Linked DNA regions of Homo sapiens: regions 2, 3 and 4 are each linked to region 1. Evidence: promoter capture Hi-C in 16 types of primary human blood cells and fetal thymus (Javierre and others, 2016). All regions are on one chromosome and are shown on one strand. Each heading gives the region's core, a stretch centred on a gene start or on the middle of the fragment in contact. The rest is flanking DNA. Distances are from core to core; before and after follow the strand shown.

Evidence for each region. Contacts are between HindIII fragments. The CHiCAGO score rates a contact against its expected background, and 5 or more counts as called.
Region 2: a contact is called between a fragment that was not itself captured here and the fragment with the promoter of HUNK in region 1, in 1 of 17 cell types (endothelial precursors). The highest score is 5.6, in endothelial precursors.
Region 3: a fragment that was not itself captured here is called in contact with the fragment with the promoter of HUNK in region 1 in 2 of 17 cell types (endothelial precursors and M2 macrophages); the score reaches 7.3 in endothelial precursors.
Region 4: a fragment that was not itself captured here is called in contact with the fragment with the promoter of HUNK in region 1 in 6 of 17 cell types (endothelial precursors, erythroblasts, M1 macrophages and 3 more); the score reaches 8.5 in endothelial precursors.

The regions. Positions count from the first base shown.
Region 1 is chr21:31,871,702-31,874,401 of GRCh38, forward strand. It overlaps HUNK (hormonally up-regulated Neu-associated kinase), which reads left to right and starts at 1,319. Exons shown (of 11, transcript NM_014586.2): 1 at 1,319-2,234. The coding sequence starts at 1,974. RefSeq lists silencers at 1,437-1,486, 2,413-2,592. The HindIII fragment of the contact is 7,184 bases long and covers 1-2,700 here.
Region 2 is chr21:32,213,964-32,216,663 of GRCh38, forward strand. It overlaps a transcript of MIS18A not described here. Among named protein-coding and RNA genes, the nearest start is that of MIS18A, 64 kb to the right of the region's middle. The HindIII fragment of the contact is 1,666 bases long and covers 560-2,225 here.
Region 3 is chr21:32,232,369-32,235,068 of GRCh38, forward strand. It overlaps a transcript of MIS18A not described here. Among named protein-coding and RNA genes, the nearest start is that of MIS18A, 45 kb to the right of the region's middle. The HindIII fragment of the contact is 1,872 bases long and covers 510-2,381 here.
Region 4 is chr21:32,272,776-32,275,475 of GRCh38, forward strand. MIS18A (MIS18 kinetochore protein A) reads right to left here. Exons shown (of 5, transcript NM_018944.3): 2 at 2,055-2,121. Among named protein-coding and RNA genes, the nearest start is that of MIS18A, 4.9 kb to the right of the region's middle. The HindIII fragment of the contact is 4,985 bases long and covers 1-2,700 here.

The DNA.
Region 1 (2,700 bases), core at 69-2,568:
TATTCTGCTGGCACCACGCTAGTTACCATTCCCCTCCCATGCAACTGTCCTGTTAAGATTTGATTACTGAATTAGAGACATTAAAAGGATTGAATGAACGTTACTGAAATAGTCAAGGCCGGTGGGAGCAAAGAAGTCCCTTCAGCACAGCAAGAAAAACATTTTAAGCTGTATCTTTAATATTGGTAAACGGGAACAATGAGACAGAACAACAGAAAACGCAGTATGTTCCGTCATAATAACTGAGGCTGGTGACTTGTAACAGGTAGGTGGATGAATATAGTAGCGTATTTAAAATTAGATGTATTGAAAGCAGGCATTTCTCTGCGTCCCTCTTCAGATGGGTCAGCGAGACCCCCAGACACTGGATTGATGACAGCTGTTGTTCCCCCACCCCCCACTCCCAATCTCAAAGCATTGCTATGGGTCGATGTCATACTTGTTTACTCAGGAATAAACAATGAAAGGAACTTTGTTAGGACCAAATCCTTCCTTTCAGCTCTGATGTTGCATGATCGGGGTGAAGTTTCCATCAAATGCGGGCACCTCAACAGGTAGCATTTTGTAAATGCCTCCTCCTACCTACCCTCCTCCTTCTCCCTCACAAGATTCTTCATTTTCGGTTTGAGAAGACGTTGGGGATCCTGGGAGAGGGTCCAGTGTCGTCAGGGCAGTTGCAATTGTTTATGCGATGAGCACAGTCACAGCGCTTGCAGAACAAAAGCATCGAAGAGAGGCGAGCGCCGGTCCACCTCCTGCAATCACAGGCATCATTTCAATGGAAGGCAAAGAAGGTGTAAGCTACAAGCAGAGGCAGCAAACGCCCTGGTTCCTACATTGCTGCTGCTACTATTACTGCTGTGGCTGCGCCTCCTCCAACACAGCCAACCAGGCTGCGTGCGAGCCCGGGCAGACGCCTGGCCGCCTCCCCACCCTTTCTTCCAGCCATCCATCTATCCTTCCACCCCCGGTCCAGGGGGCCCTACTGTGTGGCGGACTCAGGGCCGGGCACGCAACCCGACTCACAGTCCACGGAGTTCGAGAGCCTTCCCCCTTCCCCCCGCCCCGGGTGGGTGCGGCCAGTGGGGGATTTCACCGCCGAAAGGTCCAGAAAACCCAAGCCCAGAATCCGGGCAAGAGGCGCAGCCGGAGGCGGCCCGACCTGGGCGGCCCGGGAGCGCGCGCCTCCGAGGCCGCGCAGGTTCTCCCTGTCTGGCGCTCAGGTGGCTTCTCCGTCCACTCCGCCGCTCCCCTCCCCGGGCCCTCCCCTCTCCAGCGAGGGTCGAGTTTGACTGTGGCGCGCGGGGAAGGAGGGGCTACTAGGGATTTGAAAGTGCACGGGCTGCGGAGTGGAGCTCGCATCTGTTCCCGCCGCCCGCGAGCGGATTAAATTTCTGCAAATTCAAACTGAATGGGGCTTTCTTCTGCTGCCTTCCAGAGGGCGCCGGCAGCCCGCCGCGCGCTTCTCTCCGGCGGGAGCGGCCGCCCAGCGCACGGCTAGGAGCGATCGCGGGAGCCCGACCCAAGCCCGTGCGGGCCAGACGGCGGCGGCGAGGCGGAGGCTGCGGAGGCACCCGGGCTCCCGGACCCAGGCACCCGGACCCCGGGACCCAGGCGCCGCCGGACCGCGCCCCACCCCGCGCGCCCGAGCAGGGCGACTGTCATTAGCTTCCTGGACGGGACCCGGGGCGGGATCCTGGTGTCCTGAAAGGGGCCCGGGCGACCCTAAGAGGAAGAACTTTTGGGGGCGGGGTCCCCGGTCCCGCGTCCCCTGGGCAGCCGCTATTGTCTACGCGCCTCGCTGGGCGGCGCGGGGGGCGTGATCGCGGCGGCCCCGGGCTCTGGGTGCGGAGACCCAGGCGGGGCTGGGCCCAGGGCGGCGGCGGGAGAAGCCGGGGAAGCCGAAGAGCCTGGGGAGGAGGAGCTGCGAGCGCGGGAGACGAGCAGGAGCCGCGCGGGCCGCGGCGAGCGCGATGCCGGCGGCGGCGGGGGACGGGCTCCTGGGGGAGCCGGCGGCGCCTGGGGGCGGCGGCGGCGCGGAGGACGCGGCCAGGCCCGCGGCGGCCTGCGAGGGAAGTTTCCTGCCTGCCTGGGTGAGCGGCGTGCCCCGCGAGCGGCTCCGCGACTTCCAGCACCACAAGCGCGTGGGCAACTACCTCATCGGCAGCAGGAAGCTGGGCGAGGGCTCCTTTGCCAAGGTGCGCGAGGGGCTGCACGTGCTGACCGGGGAGAAGGTGAGTCTCCCGGGCGCCGTGGGGCTGGGGCACAGGGGCGGGAGTCGGCGGCCAGGACCCCGCGGGGAGCACTGCACTGGGAGTCCCAGTGTGCAGTCCCGGGCCAAGCGCCTTCCCCCTCCGCCCGGCTTTCCTGTTGGGTTAAAACGCGCGCTCAGCATCTCGCAGCCTTTCCCGAAGGCGGCCTGCGGTCCGCTGCCCGGGGGTTGGGGGCTTGGGAGGGGACGGCCTTGCCCCGGGAAGCGTCCCGCGCGGCCGTTCTGCTCGTGGAAGGGCGCCGCCTGGCGACACTAGCGCGGGGGGCGGGATGGGGCCCCTCTGCCCTTCAGGCCGGCAGGGGCGGCGGATCCGTGGCGAGGCGGGAACCAGGGCTAGAGGAGGTGGGCTCTTATGTCGGGGGGCGGGGGGGGCAGGAAAGCTAACAGCCAGCCTCTGGGGGGAGCTTAGAGTCTGATCCCCGTCCTGG
Region 2 (2,700 bases), core at 143-2,642, 340 kb after region 1:
AATATCTTTGGGGGTTCATTATTCAGTCTACCACAGGGGGTATGGGAGGAAACACTCCTGTTCTCTCTTCATTCCATTTCCCCTGTCCCCTAGGAAACCAGAGTAGACACTCTGACATCCACCAGCCAGTGCTCCCCAGTGGAGGGATTGCTGTGTTAAAGGCTGTGGTCCCTCACTCCCATGGTGCCCACGCCCTTGACCCCACACCCCACCTCTCTTCTCTGAGGAACATAGCTATCAGGTCCACCTTGGAGGCCAGAAACCCCCATTCTCAGATGGGACATGAGAGGATCCACCACATTCCTCAGGAGGTTGATTCAGAGCTCCACATCTTGGCAGTTGGTGGGGTCTCATCTAGAGAGTGCATTGGACCTAGAAAATTCTGACAAAGTCACTTCCTTTGGCAAGAACCTTGGAGAGGCGAGAGCTGGGATGCAGACGGGTTGCAAGGGTCCCAGTCAGGAAGGTTTGGTGCTGCGCTTTCCAAACTTTTATACATATGTATGGTTGACTAGTGATCTTGTTATTATTTTTCTTCCATGAGCTCTTGGGTTTTAAAAGCTTTTTGTCTTCTTAACCATCTACATTTAGTAAGTAGTAGCCTATATGTTCTAATCACAGATTAAGGCATAATTTCCATTAAACTTTTAAAAATCTTGAAAAGAAGCACACAACTCCCATTACCATATTTCAAAATAAACCCTTGACAGTCTCTGGAGTCCAGATTGGAAAACAAGGATACAGAAATAACAGCAATGACAATAGCAATGTTACCTACAGCACAAGGAGCTCTGGGCTGAGGGACAGGATACCTGCAGCCCGGCCCTTGCCCTGCCACTCACTCACTGTGCCAAGCTAAGAAATGACTCACCTGCCCAGTGATCACAAGCCCCAGCCCCGGAGCCTCTGGTTTAACTGGGTCAGGGTGGGATTCCCCCAGGTAAGTCCAGTGTGAGTCAAGACCACTGGCTGGACAGGGTCTAGCTGCCCCAGAGAACACTCCAGGCTGAGTCTCCCGGAGCCAAGGGGACAAACTCAGGACTCTGTGAGAGGGAGGGCAATGGGACGGGGACATAAGCAAGCCAAGCTGCACCCAGGGCCTGTGAATGTTGACATCTTGTGGGCTCAGGCCACCTGGTGAGGCTAAGCAGGAGAGTGCTTGGCTGTTCTGACACTGTTCATTAAGCCAGGGACAGACAGAGACTAACGTGATTTAAAAGCCTCCAAAAGACACACTGCAAATCAGGGTCACAGCAAGGGCCAGCCAGCAGCCAGCTCAGGCTTGCCCTCTCTCCCTCTCACCCCTCCTTTCCCCCTGCACTCACCTTGTCTGAGCCAAATTGTTTTTCCACCAAAATTTACAGGGGTAGCACTGTGGGGAAACATTTGGGAGAGATCTCCGGCTGTGACCCACTGTTAAAAGCATCTCCACTGGCTATTGCTAAACAGAAAAGATTGTGGCTTCCCAGCAAGGCTGATTTCCCAGAAAACAGCCCTGGTAGGCCAAGGGGTAGGAACGCGAGGTAAGTGCTTATCTCCATGTGCTGATGTTCACTAGGGAAGCCAGGGACGGTCAGGATATCTCACCCCAGCTGAAATCAGATGACAAGCTGGTATCCATCTCAGAGGGAGCTCTAGAGGACAAGCAGAGGCAGGCTGAACATAGGTATCTTCTTTTTGTTGAAACACAAAGATAGCCGCTGCCTTTCTTTCTTGCCCTCTTACTCATAATTTTGTCCTGGAGAGGATCAGGAGGAGCCTCCCTGGATTATTCCAATTAGTCATTAGTCACTTGTTTCTCTGGTATGGGATAATCTGGTTCTATGATTACAGTGACCTAGAGTACCTGAACCAAAAACTGAGAGGCACATTTTAGTAAAAATTATTTTGGTGGGAGGTTTTTCCCACTATTTGTCATTCTATGAAAACAAAAAGTTTGCAGGCTAGAATACAAAAATTTAGATCATAACAAAAAGGTCTAACATTCTAAGATGAATTTCTAACACTCTGTGGTGCCATCACCATAAGAAGATGTGGGGGATGTTAGTGGATGTGGTGGACTAAAGACCTCTAAAACTCCTCTCCTCCATAAAAGCAACAAAAACACTAACCAAAAAAAAGTCAGAATCAAATTTTTCAGAAATTTAGAAATTAACCAAAGGCTTGCAACAATCTGAGGTGCATTTATTCAGTAACAATGGCTGAATCTTGGTAAAAAAATAGAAAGCTTTGTGGTATTTTAATTTGCCTATTCCCATCCCTTACCCGTACCCCCAGATTTGCAGTACTCTGGAAAACCAACAGCCCACAATCGCAGTGAAAAATCTCAAAAACCTAGTCTGACAGCCACTGGAAGGAGAAGAACAGTTCTGGAGCCCCCTCAAAGTTCCATTTCCAGAGAACTGTCATCATTCCACCTGTCTACTTTCCTGGAAGACCCCACCAACAATGCTGTCTTTATGTGATGTGACTCAGAGCTCTTCCAGTGCAAAAAGCCTTTTCTTCAGAGGATATTTGTCTAAAACAAAGCATCTTGACTGCCTGAGGCAGTAGATAGCAGTTGGGGCAAATAATAGGCCAACCAAAGAGCTTAAAAGGAAAAGCTGGAGAATGACTTGTTCAAAGAGAGCTTTTAAAAGCTCTGATATATTCCTGTTAATCTAAAATGCCACATATATGCATAGGACAGTAGGCATGCCC
Region 3 (2,700 bases), core at 196-2,695, 360 kb after region 1:
TGGTATGCATAAATAGATACACATTATATATCTTTATATTACATATATCTTTATATTACATATATAAAGATATATATATCTTTAGAGTATCCATCATTTTTAAGGCTGAATAATATCCATTGTATACTGAATAACTTCCATTGTATACAGAATAATATTCATTTTGTGTATATATATAATTGAATATTATTCAGCCTTTAAAAAATACAAATATTATTCATCTTTGTGACAACATACATGAACTTGGAGGACATCATGCTACGTGAAATTAACCAGACACAGAAAGAAAAATGCTGCATGATCTCACTTATATGAAGAAATTTTTAAAGAGTCAAATGCATAGAAACAAAGAATTAAAACTGTGGTTACCAGGAAGGTGGAAGGAGAGGGAAGAAATGAAGAGATATAGGTCAAAGGAGACAAAGTTGCAGATAGGCAGGATGAATAAAACCTAGAGACCTAATGTACAACATGAGGACTATAGTTATAATATTATATTGTATACTGGAAGCTTGCTAAGAGAGTAGATTTTAGGTGCTCTCTACAGGGTATTAGAGTGAGCAGAGATGGAGAATCAATGGGAACCTGAAAATGATCATTTTACCTGGTCCAGCTTTGACATACACAGTGAAATTGTTTCTATTTGAAAACAGGAAAGGCAGTAGTCTAAATTCACTTAACCTCTATATTCTGGGCAAACAAATAATTGTCCAGTTTACAAAAGAGCAACAGGTTTCTTTAAATAGGCCAGTGTTTAATTGCTTTCCTGGATGAATTCCTTGTTTTCTGAATAAAGGCATGAGTCAATGAGTTCAATGAGTTCAGCTCAGTTCAGTGAGCACCACAGCTCTTTGCTATGTAAATGACCTATTTAGAAATGAATTGCATTTCTGAATTTTTCTCAGCAGCAGTTGTTTTTAACCAAGGTCTTGCACATCAATTGTTCTGTAATCTTCAGGGTTGGGATGGGGAGAGAAACAAAAGAAATAGCAAATTAATTGTACCGTGTAATCGTAAGAATCTACACTTTGAGGGTTTGCCATTTTGTTGATAGGAAAAAAAATTGCTATGTGCAGTGATACTGTAATCAAAATGACAAGCAATGGAAAAGGAATTTCAGGCATACTCTCCTGTTTTAAGCTGAAGCACAGAGAATAAAGTACGTAGCAGCCACGGCTTTGATTCTGGTCAGAATTACTCAGGTTTCCTCTCTACAATTGCTTAACCTTGGCCATCAAATTTTGTGCCACTTCTTATGCTACCATTGTGGGCATATGGAATCATCCTCCTGGGAGCTGTAATTCGTTTCATCTTATCTTGCAGGCAGGGGACCCTGATTTCATTACCAAGGTTGTAGGCACAAAATGGGATGGCTAGGGTTCACAATGACCCCCACCCCAACCATGGACTTGTTCTGCTCCCACTCTGCCCCTGGCCATGGCAAATTGATCCAAGGAGGAAGACGCTGGACTCAAACTGAGCCAAAATTAAAGGGGAACAGAAAGTAAAGGATATTCTACAAACACCTCACCAATACTCCTCAAAACTGTCCAGTCATCAAAAACAAGGAAAGTCTGAGAAATTCTGTCTAGAGAAGCCTCGGGAGATATGACTACTAAATGTAATGCAGTGCCCTGGATGGGCTCCTGGGGCAGAAAAATGATATTAAATAAAAACTAAGGAAATCTGAGTAAACTGTGGAATTTAGGTAATAACAATGTGTCAACATCCGTTCATTATTTGTGACAAATGTACCATAGCAGTGTTAACAATAGGGGAAATAGTACAGGGACTCTTTCTAATATTCTTGCAACTTTTCAGTAAACTGAAACTATTCTAAAATTATAAGTTGATCAAAAAGAAGGAATCAGAGAGACCAGAGGTGGTTGGAGCGGAGGGTTCTGGCCCCACCCTAGAAAGCAGTCCTGATGCTGAGGATGCTGGAGTGGCCCCAATTCCTGCTCAGCCTTACGGTCTTTCTTTGATCCCATGAGCTCCCTCAATGTGCTTCCCATAGTCCTAATGCCTAACGTGCTGAAGTTACCCAGGAATGAAATCTGTTGCTTGCAACCAAAGGTTCTTACCAGAAGCTCTGCTTCTGAGTCCTTAGGAAAGAGGTAGTGCCAGATCTCAATTTATAAGGCAATGGTTGGGCCATGATGTGGTGTGGATGTTTGTCCCCTCCAAATCTCCTGTTGAAATATAATCCCCAATGTTGAAGGTGGGACCCCCTCATGACTGGCTTAGCAGCATCCATGGTGATGAGTGTGTTCTCACTCGGTTCATGTGAGAACTGCTTGTTTAAAGGAGTCTGAGACCTCCCCCTTGGCTCTCTGGCTCCCTCTCTCATCATGTGACATGCAGGCTCTGCCGTGATTGGAAGCTTCCTGAGGCCTCACTAGAAGCCCAGCAGATGGCCGGCACCACACTTCCTGTACAGCCTACAGAACCATGAGCCAAGATAAAACCTCTTTTCTTTATAAATTACCCAGCCTTGGGTATTCCTTTATAGCAACACAAGAACGGACTAACAGTAAGCTGTAATGCAAATCTTATTCTGTAATTTTCATAACTTTCCTCAGTAAACATTTTACCAGAGCTCTTGAGACAGAGGAGCACCTATTTCATTCTTTCCTCTCCTCTCCTCCCAGCATGGGTCTCCACAGAGATGACCCATGCCCATGGCAGATATAGCTAATT
Region 4 (2,700 bases), core at 73-2,572, 400 kb after region 1:
ATGTAATAGCACAGTTGGTACCTGGTACACAAATAGGACAAAAATGATGGTGATATCAAAATGGCTAGAGCTAGAGCTAGAAAGTGGAGAAGAAAGAGCACTTCGAAGGCAGTAAGGAAGGGTAACAAGCATCATCCTAGCTCTTACTGCTAATTAGTCCTGTGACCTTAGCAAAGTTCTAGCCTCCCTGGGCCTAACTTTCTTCAACTACCAAATGAGAAATGATCTGAGGTGGGTTTTCCAAATTTTTATGGCCTGCATGCCGGCACCACAATTTCTGTCACATCCACAAACCATCTGTACTATTACTAATTTATCTTAAATGGAGAAACTTTTTTTCTTTTTTTTTTTTTTTCACTTTTATGGAAGAGATACATAGGGCAAAGGTTACAGAAGGGGGACACAGAGCTTCCAAGACCTTTCTAGGTACACCACCCTCCCGGCATCTCATATTCACCAATCTGGAAGTTCTCTAAAACCCATGGGTTTTTTGGAGGTTTTATAACACAGGCATGATTAATTACACCATTGCTGATAATCTCTAGCCCCTCTGCCCTCGATGGAGGTAGGAGAAGAGGTTGGGGTAGGGCCAAAACTTCCAACCCTCTAATCATGCCTTGGTCCTTCTGGCCCCCAATCCTGAAGCTACATAGAAGCCCCCCAGCCACAGTCACCTCATTAGGATTAAAAACGACATTATTATCACTCCAGAGATTCCAAGCATCTTAGAAGCTCTTCTGTCAGAACTGGGGACTAAGACCAAACATGGTAACAAAAGATACCCTTATCACCCCATCACTCAAGAAATCGAAAGGGTTTTAGGAGCGACTAAGTATTGAATGTTTCTGTCCCCTACCACATGTATAAGTTGAAATGGTAGCTCCTAATGTGATGGTATTGGGAGGAGGGGTCATCAGGAGGTATTTGGTCATAAGTGCACAGAGTAATTTTTTTTAAATTGAAATATACTTTATTTGATAGGATACTCTAGCATCACTAAAAATGAAAAGCCAGTATTTTTAATACACATTAAAATATACACATAATTAATTTTTGTTTAACTGTGTACCACCTAAAGTTATTTCATACGCAAGTGTAAGATACAGTTTACATTTGCAGCAACAATTATATAGGGCAGCGCTTCCCACTCAGTTTGCTCAGGCGTCACTATGGCACATGGGTGGCAGGTATGGCAAGATATTTGTCCCCTCTACCCTTAAAGTGGCCACACAGGGCTTCAGATTGCTGGAGCTCCTGTGTTGTTTGCTCTTGCCACAAACAGCCTTGTCTGTTTACCCCAATAGGCTGTGTGTGTGACAGCAGCATTTTATGTGTGTGCCATAACATGAGAAAGTTGGGCAGCATTAGCCTAAGGCACCCTTTAACATTGAGATTTTATAATATAGGTATTTCCTTTTCTTCTTTTTTTTTTTTTTTTTTTTTTTTTTTGAGACGGAGTCTTTCTCTGTTGCCCAGGCTGCAGTGCACTGGCGATCTTGGCTCACTGCAACCTCCACCTCCGTAGTTCTAGTGATTCTCCTGTCTCAGCCTCTTGAGTAGGTGGGATTACAGGCCCGCACCACCATGCCCGGCTAATTTGTGTATTTTTAGTGGAGACGGGGTTTTGCCATGTTGGCCAGGCTGGTCTCGAATTCCTGACCCCCCGGTGATCTGCCCACCTTGGCCTCCGAAAGTGCTGGGATTACAGGCGTGAGCCACCGTGCCCGACCTTCTTTTTCTATTTTTATTTTTGATTTTCTTCAGCACCAAGCCCAAAGATCCAAAAAGGGAATGTCAGCATATGCTTTTAGAAATCTAGAAACTCTAACTTTTCAATATCTAAAGGTGACCACAACCACTCAAGAACTAACATATTCCTTTCTAAAACAGGATATAGAAAAAGCAAAAAAAAGAACTGATATATGCGAACGACTGATTTTTTTACTATCATGAAAAGTTTTATCCCAAGTAATCTTACTACTAGTAATGACCTTTTAAAGATTTTTATTAAAGAAAATTCTCTAACATATTCATATAAATACAGTTTTACTCACCAACCATTTTCCTTTTCACGTTTGGATAGCTTCTGTTCCTTATCCACAGAAACATTACAGGAAACACCTAGAAACAGAGAAAGTAACAATAATTTATTAATGTAGTTCGTTATAACATACCTGCAGACAGAGAGTTTCTAATCCAACTTTTTAGAACTCGGAGGACAAAAAATAAGCCCAAAGTCAAACACACAAAAGAGCGGTTTAAAACTAAATGTACTGGGGTCTTCTGGGAAAAGATAGCAGAATAAGAGTTATTTCCAACCAGGCGCAGGGACTCACACCTGTCATCCCAACCCTTTGGGAGGCCAAGGTGAGAGAATGGCTTGGGGCCAGGAGTTCGAGGTCAGCCTGGACAACATAACGAGACTCCATCTCTAAAAAAAAATTTTTAAATAAAAATTTAAGAAAAATTTTAAAAGGTTATTTCCTCCCTTTCCCTGAAAACCACTAACATTAATAGAATGGCTAAAATTAGAGGGGAAAATTCATTCCACAGTAAACTTGGAACAAGTAGAACCTCAAATCACACACTGCAAAGAATTATCTGCCAGATAGTGAAATTGGGTTCCAAACCTAGGAAGATGCAAACAGCCAACACATATATCTCCAGATTTCAAACACAGGGCCCATTTCTCTAAAAGTA